Linked DNA regions of Homo sapiens: region 2 is linked to region 1. Evidence: promoter capture Hi-C in human tissues and cell types (Jung and others, 2019). All regions are on one chromosome and are shown on one strand. The core of a region is centred on a gene start or on the middle of the fragment in contact, and the rest is flanking DNA. Distances in the headings are between cores, read along the strand shown. Region 1 holds the start of UTS2R (urotensin 2 receptor). Region 2 overlaps NARF (nuclear prelamin A recognition factor).

Region 1 (2,546 bases), core at 24-2,523:
AAGGACACCCACGCAGCCAACAAGCAGGGAAATGCCAGTCAGGGCCACAGGAGCCCCTGCGTGCTGACAAGGATGAACGCGTGAAAAGGCAGATATCCTTGTCAACAGGCGTGGGGGCTGTGGAGGAGCTGGCCCTGCCGTTTCCTGTTGCTGGGAACCTGGACTGTGCCGCCGCTTTGGAAAGCCATTGGCACGATTTGCAGAGTTGACCGCCTATACCTTCTCACCCGGCAATTCTACTCTCAGGTTAGTACCTTAGATAAAGGGCTGCCAACGTTCAGAAAATGACAAGCGTGCGAAAGTTCACGGCAGCTTGACTCCTAAGAAGCTGGAAACAGCTCAAATGTCCCCAGTGGACGGGGCAGGCAAACTGTGACATGAAGCCAGTGAAGGAGTCGCCGCTGGGGTCAGCAGCCTGGATGAAACAGCGCGGTGGTGGGCTGAAGAAACAAGACACAGGAGGCTGCCTGATTCCACGAGCCACGCTGAATTTAGGCCGAACACTCATGGCTGCGCAGGGAGCAGTCTTGGCTGGGGTGGGGAGTTGTCAACAGGTGGGGGCGCTGGGGGCCTTCCAGGGCCTGGAAATGTGCCCTGTCCGCCCTTTCCCACCAGGCCGAGCAGCTCCCAGCTCCATCTGTCCAGGGGACCCTCACCCCCTTGCTGCCCCCACCCAGGGCATTTCCAGAGCCCTCACCCAGGGGACGGCGCAGAAGCCGAGGGTGCACCGGGCTCCCCAGTTGTGCGCGAGCCCGAGTCACGGGCAGGGGGACAGCGGCCGCCGGGCCGCTAGGATTGCTCCAGGGTCGCTAGGGGGGAAGGGGAGGGGCCGAAAGTTCCACGGCACGGGAGAAGCCGCCTCGCTGGACCCCGCTCCCCTCGCCCAGGGTGGGTTCCCACCGCGAAACCCCGGCCCAGCCCTGCGGAGGGCCCCGAAGGGCACAGACCCGGCAGTCCCCGCGCGCTCCCGGTCACCCACCGAGGACCCACCTGCCTCCGGTCACTGAGCGGCCAGACCTGCCCGCCGAGCCTGGGGTCGCGCGTGGGGGCAGCCGCTCGCGGCTCCAAACTCCTCGCGCAGCGGGGCCGCGGGGAACTTTCCGAGGCGCGCTCCCCTGTCCCAGCGCAGAGGGGGCGCGAGGGGCTCCGCGGTGGCCTCGGCTTCCAGAGCACACGGCAGGGGCGCCCGCCAGTCCCGCCACCAAAGCCGCGCCCCCCGCCCCGCGCCGGGTCTCTGCGCCGCCGCCACCTGCCCGCCGCCAGCTGGGAATGCGCCGCGCCCCGCGCCAGGGCCCGGTATTAAAATAACCCCAGCGGGCAGCAGGCGCGCGGAGGGGACGGCGCCGGGTGTCTAGGGGGCGGCGCTGACCGCGCGGCGCCGGGAAGACGCGGGGGTCGCGGGGCCGCAGCGGGGTCGGCGGAGGGTCCCAGGCGGGTCTCGCGTCTGCGTCTGCGGAGCGAAGCTGCCTCCAGCCCGGCTGCCCCAAGGCTGACCCCGCAGCCCCTCTTGGGTTCTCCGCCTCCAGCGTTCACCCCTGCGCCCCTCACGCCCGTGTTTGCAGGGCACGGAGCCTGGGATTCTCCGTGTCCACCAAGCCCTGGACCCGCCCGCGCGCAGGTGGGGGGCAGGAACACCCCTAAACCCCGAGAGGGTCATAGAAAGGAGGTAAGGGAGGGAGGGAGTCACCCGCCCAGGCGGGGACGGGCTCTTTGGGGGCCTTGACCCCGCCCCTGTTGCGGGTCTCCCACAGATGCTCTTAGAAGCCCACGCAGCCTCTCCAGGCCTCGGCAGGGACTCGTGGTGGCCACATCCACGGAAGTGACGCTGGGAGCTGCAGGGCCCCGCGGGGTAGGAGGAAGGACCCCACAGCCTCACCCTCGAGCCCCTGAGCTGGGTGCTGGCCCCCACTCGGTTTCACTTGCTGCTCGGAGGTAGGATGTGGGCCTTCACTCATGCTGAACCCCTGAAAGAAAAAGACACAGAACATTAATAAATTAGACTAGAGGAGAGCTGGAGAGCTGTGAACACGGGGTCTAAAGGGCCCCCAGCGAGGAGCTGGCCTCGCCCACTCCACTCCGCCCGGGGCTCATCTGCTGCCTGAGGCCGCGGACCGGCCCCTAAAGCTGAAGGGGTTCTGCTGGGGGAGAGGAGGTGGCCAAGTGTGAATGGCCGAGAGGCTCCTGCAATCAGCTGGATCCGGGGGAGCCCCAGATGCCCACCAGTCCCCTCCGTGGGACGTTTGCCACGTGCTGGGGAGGCGAGGCTGGGCTGGAGAGGGCGGGAAAAGTCCCTCTGGTCTCCGAGCGTCCGCTGGACGGAGCAAGGGTCACACAATAAGACAGTTCATTCTCTGTGAGCTGAAAACAGCCGAACTGAAACCAAATACAGCTGCAGCTTCCGACCCGAAAGGGGAGCAGCTCATCCTGCCTGTGCGCGGGAGGAAAGGGGGTGGAAGGCTGCCTCCGACGTGATGGTTCTGTGAGAGCTGATTACTAAGCTGGAGTCTAGGGGCTAGGGCTGGGGAAAAGCACTCAGGACCCAGAAT
Region 2 (2,546 bases), core at 15-2,514, 100 kb before region 1:
TGAGGTCAGGAGTTTGAGACTGGCCTGGCCAACATGGTGCAACCCCGTCTCTACTAAAAATACAAAAATTAGCCGGGCATGGTGGCAAGTGCCTGTAATCCCAGCACTTTGGGAGACTGAGGCGGGCGATCACCTGAGGTCAGGAGTTTGAGACCAGCCTGACCAAAATGGTAAAACCCTGTCTCTACTACAGATACAAAAATTAGCTGGGCATGGTGGCATGCACCTGCAATCCCAACTTCTCAGGAGGCTGAGTTGGGAGAATCACTTGAACCTGGGGGATGGAGGTTGCAGTGGGCCAAGATCACACCAATGCACTCCAGCCTGGGTGACAGAGCGAGACTCTGTCTCAATAAATAAATAAATAAAATAAAAAATAAAAAAAAGTCTTGACCAGGATGGAGCTTATGTTGAGAAATAAAGTTTATACTTTTTATCTTTTAATTCTGTTCTTCCACAAACTTTTTGCAGTCTCCTTACATTTGTTGATTTCCTTATGAGAGGTCCTACTGGGATGGAACCTTCTCAAGTCACTGAAGGAACTAACTCTGCTGATGTGAATCCTGAGCAGATTGCTGATTTGTATAGAAACGGTGATCCCTCCGCCTGTGGCAGTGAACACAATGCTAGGTAGGGGCCCTGAGAGGTCTCTTCTCAGTGACGGCATTTCTGAGAAATGTGTCACCAAATCCTTTCTCTTCTCCAGCCACTGGCTGCAGGCCAGCCCCTTGCTTCCTATTTTAGCTTGAGATTTGCTGTATGTATGTAGTATATATGTATGATTGACAGGGTTGCTCTGTTACCCAGGCTGGAGTGCGGTGGTGCAATCACGGCTCACTGCAGCCTCGACCTCCTGGGTTCCAGTGAAGCTCCCACCTCAGCCTCCCGAGTAGCAGGGACTACAGGTGCCCGCCACACCTGGCTAATTTTTTGTATTTTTAGTAGAGACGGGGTTTCACCGTGTTAGCCAGGATGGTCTCAATCTCCTGACCTTGTGATCCGCCCACCTCGGCCTCCCAAAGTGCTGGGATTACAGGCGTGAGCCACTGCGCCCGGCCTAAATTTTTTATAATTTAAAAACCACTGCTCCAGGGGCATGGGCCTTAGTTCGTTGTCATTTTACACGGCCTCTTCCTTGGTTGGGGGTGGAACTAAGCAAGTGTGACTGGTGTTGTGAAGCCATGTTGTGTGTGGTATCATGTAACAGGGTCCCAAAAGGAAAGCACTCCTGCAAGGGGACCACAGAGGCAGGCTCAGGCTCAGCACACAAACACCAGGTACTCCCAGGTTGCTGGAGTCCAGGCAGCCCCAGAAACCATCAGGTGTGGAAATTATCCCTTTACACCTGGAAACACACCCAAAATGCCACAAGAGCTGAATGTAACACCCACAATCTAGTAAAAGGCTGTATCTGGCGTCAAATGGCTTATACTTCGACCTCTGATACAAAAATCTGTGAATCACTTACAGTAAGGCAAACCATACAGCTGAAAGAAGTCACTAACATCCCTGTCCCCATCTGGAGCTGAGATCACAGCAGGCTGTGGGTTGCTGGTGAACGATACAGCTCAAATAACGAGCCAACCAATGCAGCCCATGGAACAGATGGTAAATTTCCTCTTTATATTTTATAAATGGCTAGAGAGTAAGTCCGTATTCTAAGCAACCACGATGTCAATGTTCCATCTTATTAATTCATAATCCTAATGACTAAAGGTTGACATGTAAAATGCCAGAAAAATTTGAAACCATTGTAGGGGGAGCATAAATTAAGAACTGAAACGTGAACCAAACCCTAAAAATTATACAGCCTACGACTAGCTTAGATAGAGCTCTCCTATGCTCCCACAGGCCTCATGTAGTAGAATAATTTTTAACTAGTGTTGTTTGCCAGGATAGCCATTCCTTCCTTATTCCCTTATGCATCATCGAAGATTTCTTAACCCAAACTCTCTATTTTTCCAGAATTGAAAAGCATGTGACAAATCTCTTCTATAACTCAGGCATCCAAAAACCAATTAAAGAGTGGTTTAAACAGTGCGCCCTGAGAGTATCTGAATATCAATGTAAAGAAATTTTCTTATTCTGTATTTTTTTTAAGCTGGCAAAAGATACATGCACGTTTGCCATATTATTCCATAATTATTTGTACATCTGAGATATGTTGTACTTTCAAGAGAAAACGGATTTTCTTAAGAGACAGGACCTCAGTCTTTCGCCCAGGCTGGAGTACAATGGAGGAGTCATAGCTCACTGCAGCCTCTAACTCCTTGGCTCAAACACCTCAGGCTAGGATTCGTAGTAGCTGTGATTACAGGTACTTGCCACCACCCCTGGCTTTTTTTTGTTTTTTTTTGCAGAGACGAGGTCTCACTATGTTGACGAGACTGGTCCCACACTCCTGGGCTAAAGCAATCCTCCCACATCAGCCTTCTAAATTGTTGGGATTATGGCTGTGAGCCACCATGCCTGGCCTATTTTTCTTTTCCTTTTAAAAAATATTTATTTAAAAAATTAGAGGACGGGTGTGGTGGCTCATGTCTGTA

Evidence for each region. Contacts are between HindIII fragments. The study calls those that stand out against the background at their distance.
Region 2: a contact is called between a fragment that was not itself captured here and the fragment with the promoter of UTS2R in region 1, in 2 of the 25 tissues and cell types used here (pancreas and spleen).

The regions. Positions count from the first base shown.
Region 1 is chr17:82,370,492-82,373,037 of GRCh38, reverse strand. It overlaps UTS2R (urotensin 2 receptor), which reads right to left and starts at 1,273. Exons shown (of 3, transcript NM_018949.3): 1 at 991-1,273; 2 at 255-440. The HindIII fragment of the contact is 34,629 bases long and covers 1-2,546 here.
Region 2 is chr17:82,473,831-82,476,376 of GRCh38, reverse strand. The region is part of intron 5 of NARF (nuclear prelamin A recognition factor); the gene reads right to left. Among named protein-coding and RNA genes, the nearest start is that of NARF, 16 kb to the right of the region's middle. The HindIII fragment of the contact is 9,427 bases long and covers 1-2,546 here.